3 separate regions of the Homo sapiens genome follow, and all the other regions are linked to region 1. Evidence: promoter capture Hi-C in 16 types of primary human blood cells and fetal thymus (Javierre and others, 2016). All regions are on one chromosome and are shown on one strand. The core of a region is centred on a gene start or on the middle of the fragment in contact, and the rest is flanking DNA. Distances in the headings are between cores, read along the strand shown. Region 1 holds the start of LINC03000 (long intergenic non-protein coding RNA 3000). Region 2 has its middle 170 kb from the start of MAT2B. Region 3 has its middle 190 kb from the start of MAT2B.

What was found. The method cuts DNA at HindIII sites, captures the fragments that hold promoters and counts their contacts. A CHiCAGO score of 5 or more calls a contact.
Region 2: a fragment that was not itself captured here is called in contact with the fragment with the promoter of LINC03000 in region 1 in 1 of 17 cell types (naive B cells); the score reaches 5.7 in naive B cells.
Region 3: a contact is called between a fragment that was not itself captured here and the fragment with the promoter of LINC03000 in region 1, in 2 of 17 cell types (naive B cells and total B cells). The highest score is 5.9, in naive B cells.

What each region holds. Positions count from the first base shown.
Region 1 is chr5:164,295,401-164,298,115 of GRCh38, forward strand. LINC03000 (long intergenic non-protein coding RNA 3000) reads left to right here and starts at 1,305. Exons shown (of 5, transcript XR_001742489.2): 1 at 1,305-1,796. The HindIII fragment of the contact is 4,689 bases long and covers 218-2,715 here.
Region 2 is chr5:163,669,999-163,672,713 of GRCh38, forward strand. No RefSeq gene overlaps it. Among named protein-coding and RNA genes, the nearest start is that of MAT2B, 170 kb to the left of the region's middle. The HindIII fragment of the contact is 5,335 bases long and covers 1-2,715 here.
Region 3 is chr5:163,691,172-163,693,886 of GRCh38, forward strand. No RefSeq gene overlaps it. Among named protein-coding and RNA genes, the nearest start is that of MAT2B, 190 kb to the left of the region's middle. The HindIII fragment of the contact is 179 bases long and covers 1,242-1,420 here.

The DNA of each region.
Region 1 (2,715 bases), core at 55-2,554:
AAAAGGCTCTTCAGGTTTTTAGCCATATACATGGCCATTTCACATAGACACTCTATTTTCCAGTCTTCCAGTCTCATTTGCAGTAAGCTCTGGCCATATGGTTAATTTCTAGTCAAAAACATGTCATGTTCAACTTCCAAGGTATGTCCTTAAATAGGGAACATATTGTCCTCATTCTTCTCAGCTCCTGAAGTTTGAATACCAATTTAGTGGCTAAAGCTTGAGATACTATCTTGGAGTGTGTTGCTAATGGTGGAGCAACAAGGAGCCTAGTTCCTGATATCATGGAGCTCATATCTAGCCCTGGAACACTTAGCTGCAGACTTCATTTTCATCAGGGATAGAAATAAAGTTATATTTTAGTCTAGCAACTATTTACTTCAGGTGTTTTGGCATTCATGGAAAAGTCTCATCCTAACTTATACTTAATTATTTTACCAAATACTGTTGCCTACATTATATGATTGTGCTTTAAAAGTCTCATCGTTACAGTATACATTGATTAGGACCAGTATTTGAGAGTGTGCATCTCAAAGTTCTGTATCCATAGTTTAGTAACCACCTGTAGTTTTGTTAGCATGAAAACAACTTCTGACTCTCTTTATGCAAATACCTGTAGGCCATTATCTGCTAAATCTTTCTTAAATATGTGGTATATATTAGCCTACGTTTATTTGTCTATTAATACTTGCAAAAGCCACAGCAAAACATGATGTATATAAGTAGGATGATTTTTTGTTATCAAAACTGAATGATAGCTATAGGAAACCAGTGAGTACCATTAATTCACTCTGTTCAATTCTTTGCACTTACCTTCTTTCAGACTCGTTCATCAGTTTCACTTTAGTTTATCTCAGTTTCTATTTTTGGCACCTGTGAGATATGGATGCTTTTTGTTTGTTTGCTCACCTCTCCCCAACCCTCCCTACTCAGTCCCTCAGGAATACTGAGACTAGAGAAATTCATCTTCCCCTACCATGAAAACATTTTTCTGGGGCCTAACATACCTGATCTTTATCTTCCAAAGTTAGAAAATTCAGTTACTTTGGCGACAGCTTGGGAATGAGGTAGGTTCTCCAAGTTTAGCAGAGTAGAAAACTATCTAAAATAGTTTTGTTCAGGGTGTCCAGACATTTAATAAAACATTTTTTACCCACAGAAAATGTGGTCCCTTAGAGGAGAAGCAAGGTCCTGAGCCAAACTTTATAATGTACGTTCCTAGGAGGGAAAGCGAGGGAAATTCAGTCCACCGCTCTGCCTGCCTGCCTGCCTGCCTGCCTGCCTGAGGAGTTGCAGTGCAGAGTATCATTGCAGCGCTTTTCCAGGGAGTAACGTGCTGCACTGGTTCAGGGCTTTGTCTTTATTCACAACACATTCATGTGCCTCAGCATGGGGGCAGCTGCACTGTTGCCTGCCAGCCTGTCCTCTTTGACTGCCGAATGAACCAAAGGATAACTCTCCATTCGTGAGAGAGAGTGAGCTACAGAGGAAGAAAGACCACGCAAAAGGGAGGGGGAGAGAGGGGGGCGAAGAGGATGTTCTCCGGCTCACTCCTACATTAGGTCTCTGTGCAAAGGCAGAGGCTGTGGGAGCAGCATCAAGCAAGACTTCGGGCAGTGATTCTAACTATTGCCTATGAACACCGTGGCTGGGACGACTTTGACGAGGCAATTTATTACTTACGCATAGAACACTGGCTGTGCTGAAACTGGGAGCGCAAACAGCCCCTTGTTTTCTAATTTAGAGACTTGCATCTTTTCGACACTCAACAGTATCAAGACACTCTGCTACTACAGGTAAGACGCAGTTAAGATTTGTCTATTTGTGACATCATTACACTTTAACACACTTTAAACTATGAATACTTTTTTTATATTGTGCCTGGTCTATGTTGAACTGCCTTTTTCCCTTCATATTAGCCTCTCTTCAAGTAAATAATTTCACTAAGAAAAAACTGCTGTTAAATGAAGGAACCACTACTAAATCTTTGCTAAGAGGAATCTACATAATTGTATTTCCATGAGCTCTGAGTTCACAGTTGGGAACTTGAACTTAAACTGGGATCTGGGATGCATTTCATAATATATATATATATTTTTTTTTTCTAAATGTACTGAATTATTCACTATCATTTGGATAAGCCAAAATTATTCTCTTGCTACAGTGCTGTGCTGTGTATATGTTTAGTGGCTTTTTTTTTTTTTTTAAACCTCATAGTTTGGGGAAACTAATGATGAGGCACATAACTTGTGGAGTTTGATCACATCATTACCATGTGGTGTAATCTACTCAGTCAGAAAGATGTGCTGTTCTAGCCTTTACTGAGAAGGTGTTATCTTGTGTACATACATATATCATCAATAGGTAGCATGAACATGTGAAATATTTGTAAGACTAAGAGAAAATGCAAGGATGGTGATAATTCACATGCTGTATGATATCATTGAGTCTCGAGTTTGCTTTACATAAAAATTACAAAATTACCTTTGTTTTTATAACTGGTCTCCATCTTCACTTGTCAGTTTTTACAAAATAAAATTAGCTTTCAGGTGAGGTCACTCGGAGTTGTTGATATAGCTGGGAAAACTGTAATCACAGAAACATATTAATAATGTGTTGAATGTCTATAGAGATATAGGAGTAATATTATCAAGAGGCTTGTACAATTTTCCTCTGCTCTGTTTTGATAAGAGCATCTCATAGTATTAGTCACTT
Region 2 (2,715 bases), core at 130-2,629, 630 kb before region 1:
TAATATATATGGAGTTTGAAATCTTATATATTTCCCTCCCAAGAAGACACCAGTTACTAATTCAGTTGACAAAGTAACAATGTTTCAGAATATTTAATGGAAACTGAACATCCTAGTCAATAGCCACTGTAAAATGTCCATTTTATGGCCTTATTTTTGCCTGAGCTTAATTTATGGTAATTTGGTGGTTGCATATAGCCTGAAAGTATGCTGTTGGCTTGAGAGTTAGTACTTGGATGTTGCATAAATCATAGCTGAATGTGTTGGCTTCATCTAATGCTCTTCTTTCTCCTACAGTTGGAGTCCTTTTCATCTTGTCATTTCCCCAGCTTCTTTCCTGTCTTCAATTCATGGGGCTCTGAGAGATCAGTATTTAGGAGATCTTCATAACATGGCATCTTCCCAATGCTAGGTAGAGTGTTCCTGGGTTTCATAGGGAGGGAATTCAGCAAATCTTTTTGTGGGATAGAGATGGTAACAGTATTTATGTTGCACTAGCCCACCGTTAAGCACTTTAAAAGAAAATATAATCCACTTTTCCTGTCTTCCTATCTGCCTCTAAATTCCATGTTAATATAAAATATGAAATTTAAAAGTATATAATCTGATCATTTCTTTTCAGAAGAGGTTTATAGTAGTTATGTTTTGATTAAATTTGAAATGTAGGCACATGTATACATATGTAACAAACCTGCACCTTGTGCACATGTACCCTAGAACTTAAAGTATAATAATAATAATAATAAAAAAGAAAGGTAGGACAAGTAAACCAGCATGTTCCAAGCCCACATGTAATCAATTTGGGGACCTAAATAATATGAATGAATTAACTGTACTATGGGATTCAGTTTAAGTGACTGGTCTTCTAAGAACTATACTGGATGCTTCAGAAATAATGAAATCATCGCCTACCTTCCACGATTCTTTGATTTTGAATGTTTATTAGTAATTAGTGATTTCCAGAACTGATTACAATTTCTAAATAAATAAAAGTCATATGTCTAATTGTGGGCAATCTTGCTCTAAATGTTGTCAGAAAACATGTTTTAAAATTTAGGTTCTTCTAAATTCCCCAAGTCACAATATAAATGTTGCCATTTATTTATTGCTAGAAAACTCTTATATTTTTCTATTTCAATTATACAACTGTCTTCCTTTGCTTATCTGTAATTATAATGCTAACATGTGTATAAATTACACAGTATTTTTATGTGCATTATCACTTTTAGTCCATATATCAGCCTCATGTTATAAAATTTATTATACATTTAAATTAATTTAAATGCAGAAACAAGCAAGTTTAAAATTAAAATGATATTTAAAATTTTATTATAACATTTTTCTAATTATGAAATAACAAATGTTTATTGTAGAAAACCTGAAAAATGCCAAAAGTACACAGATACTGCTTAATAAGAACTGACTAAAAATGGAAAAAAAGACACAGATTACCAATATCAGGAATAAATAAATGGATATCACTACAGACTTTGCAGACATTAAAAAGATAATAAAGAAATTCAACAAACCATTCTTGGTACATAAATCCAATAACAGATAAAATGTACTAATTCCTTGAAAAATACAAATTACTAAAACTCACTGAAGATGAAATAGGTAACTTAAATAGCCCTATTGTTATTAAAAAATAAATTTACAGTTAAAAACCTTATGTAAAAGAAATCTACAGGTCCAGGGGGTTTCACTGGAGAATTCTTGCAAGCATTTAAACAAGAATAAACACAAATTCTGCACAATTTCATCAAGAAAATAAATGAGGAAGGAATACTTCCCAATTCATCTTATGAAGCTAGAATTATTCTGATATTAAAAACCAGACAGGCCGGGAATGGTGGCTGACGCCTGTAATCCTAGCACTTTGAGAGGCTGAGGTGGGCAGATTGCTTGAGCTTAGGAGTTCGAGACCAGCCTGGGCAACATGGTGAAACCCTGTTTCTACAAAAAATATGAACATTAGCTGGGTGTGATGGCATATACCTGTAGTCCCAGCTACGTGGGGGGCTGAGGCGGAAGAATTGCTTGAGTCAAGGAGGTCGAGGCTGCAGTGAGCCATGATTGCACCACTGCCCTTCAGCCTGGGTGACAGAGTGACACCCTGTCTCAAACAAACGAAACACCAAAAACATTACAAGGAAAGAAAACTTCAAAACAATAGAACATCAATGCAAAAGACTTCATAAAATTTTATCAAATTGAATCTATAATGTATAGGAATAATACTGTAATATGACTACGAGAAATTTATCCTGGGGATAAGGCTGGTTTAATATTTAAAAACAAATTAAGATAATCCACTGAATCAATACTTTAAAGAAAACCCACATGGACATACAAATGATGCAACAAAAGTATTTGCTTTTCCTGAATTCAACATCCATTCATGATAATAACTCTCAAAAAACTAAGAATAGAAGAGAATTTCCTTAGGCTAATAAAAATTATCTATTTAAAAAATCCTATATCACAAATCATATTTATTATCACACAGCCTTGTTCCCCCTAAAAATCAGGAACAAGGAAAGGATGTCCTACCTCACCACTCCAGTTCAACGTTGTATTAGAAGGCCTAGCCAGTCTCAGAGTCAATAAAAAGAAATAAAAGACATGGATTAAAAAGAAGAAACCAAACTATCCCTATTTGCAGACAACATAATTATTTACATAGGAAATCCAAATTCCAAGGCATTTACAAAC
Region 3 (2,715 bases), core at 81-2,580, 600 kb before region 1:
ATATGGTGGATGTGTTCATATATCTGTCTGCTAGTTTTCTCATCTGTAATCTGAATGAGATTATGTGAAATTTCATAAACATCAATTATGAACATTTTTAAAAATTCCTAATAAATTCTTTTTTTTTTTTTTTTGAGACGAAGTCTCGCTCTTGTCCCCAAGTCTGGAGTGCAATGGCACAATCTCGGCTCACTGCAACCTCTGCCTCCCAGGTTCAAGCGATTCTCCTGCCTCAGCCCCCCGAGTAGCTGGGATTGCAGGTGCGTACCACCATGCCCGGCTAATTTTTTGTATTTTAAGTAGAGATGGGGTTCACCATGTTGGCCAGGCTGGTCTCGAACTCCTGACCTCAGGTGATCTGCCCGCCTCGGCCTCCCAAAGTGCTGGGATTACAGGAGTGAGCCACCGCACCCAGCCAAAATTGCTAATAACTTCTTAAGTTGCTTTCCCCATGTCATTGAGGAGTTGTTTTGAAAACTTCTTTCCACTGCAGTAGGTCCTTAAAGCCTTTCCAGGGAGTTGCCACCCAGGGTTTTACTACCAGAGAAAGGCTCTCTTGAACACATTCACCTTTGATTATGCTTAATGTGTTTATTAACAAGAAGTACATATGTCTTCTTATAAAATTTGTTATTTTGGTTGTATACCAATGCTTTGCTAATTCAGTAACCACATATCTAATAAATTAATTCTGTATCTTTATTGAATCTCAAAAAGCATACCATGTAAAGTGCTTGCTTAGTATCTGCAGGATAACTTTTTATATTATAAACTATCAATAATTATTGATTGGACTAGAGAAAGCTGTGAAATTCTAGAGGGGTAAATTTGTACTAAGTATAAATGAAACATCACATAACATCATAGAAGACTTTTTCAGCTCCAGAAGGGCTTTAAAAAAAAATCATCAGTGTATTTTGTAGTTTGGATGGCATACTAAATATGGATGAAAAAAATCGATATTAAATGCATTTATTTAAATTAAAAAATATACATCATATCCAAATGCAATAGCTCAATGGTTGCACTAGAACAATCTAAAAGTTGTTAATTCCATAGCATGAAGCCCTATATATGCAAAATGAGATGAAATCTACTATGTGCCAGTGCTCCAGATTGCTGGCTGCTTTTGCCTTCTGATATATGCGAAAGCTCAGTAAAATGTGCTATGTGAGAAAAGAAGTGAGTGAGTTTATATTATTATTTCTAGTAGAACAAACTGCATTACTTTGTTTATAAAAAGCTTTAGAGGTCCATTGTTTGCTTTTCTCCTATTTTTATTTTAGATTATAAATTCCTCCCAGAATTTAGTGCAGTTTTAAAAAAATCATTACCTTTAAGGAAGTAGTCATAAATCTACATATATTAGCCTTCTTAAAGCTGTATTTGCATAACTGATTTGAAAGTAACATTTGTTATAAGCTTAAGTCTCGATGCTATTATCCCATGGCAGTTAATTTCAACCACTGTGAAATGTCAAGGGTGACCTGTTTATAGTGACTCTCATTCTTTTCCCTTGCCAAAGCAGAAGGCACTAGATAAGCATCTAGATTCTAGGAAGTTGAGGAACAGGCACCTGACACCCCTGATGATTGATTAATCTCCTTCTCCCCCAAATTGAATCAAAGGCATCCACAGCTGTTGGGTGGTCCCACTCTTTATTCCCTTTGACACTTCCTATTGGCTGCTACTAGAGTTAAATCCTAAAATAGACATCTAATAATGGACTTCCACTGCCCTCAAACTTTTGAAGTGTCTTTCCTAGAAAGTACCTTGAAATCCTACCCATTCTTTAACATTCACCTCTAATCTCATTATCCAAGTTGGAATTAATTATTCTTTCCTTCATATTTTTATGACACTTGGCTTTTCTATGTTATAAGGACAACCTCACATTAGTTGCTATACATCTACTTTTTTTGAATTGATGCTCACTTGGGACACTAGAGTGTGAGGGATTAAATGAGCAGGGATTTTGTTTATTTTGTTCACTATATCCCTCAGTGTCTAGCACAGTGTTTCCACACCTAATAGGTGCTTAATAAATATTTCTGGAATGGTTGAATGATTCCAATGGGCTTTCAAAGTTTTTTTCTTGTGGTAAGCTTTAAAGAATATCATTGTCTTGTTCACCTCAATATTCCCAGTACAGAGGGCACTTAGCACCTTGCAGAAATAAGAGGCTTTATAACTATTTGTTCCATAATAGATGGTTGGCTGAATAAATGAATAGAGCTGTTTTCTCCAAAGCCCAAGATGCTCTAAAAGGCAATTGATCTTTGAAAGGTATAATCCTGAGTATTTAAAGAAATTTTGTCATAAATTGAGTAATTAAAGTAGTAATATACCCACAGCACTAAATAAATAGCTGAAAACAAGACAAAACAAAGTGTTCTATAACTTAAAGTGTTGCCACATGAACAGTCAGTTTTCAAAAGAAGACTACATGTAGCCAACAGTTATATGAAGAAAAGCTCAACATCACTGATCATTAGAGAAATGCAAATCAAAACCACAATGAGATACCATCTCCCATCAGTCAGAATGGTTATTATTAAAAAGTCAAAAAACAACAGATGCCGACAAGGTTGTGGAAGGAAAGAAATGCTTTTTACACTGTTGGTGGGAGGATAAATTACTTCAACCATTGTGAAAAACAGTGTGGCAATTCCTCAAAGACCTCAAGACAGAAATACCACTTGACCCAGCAATCCC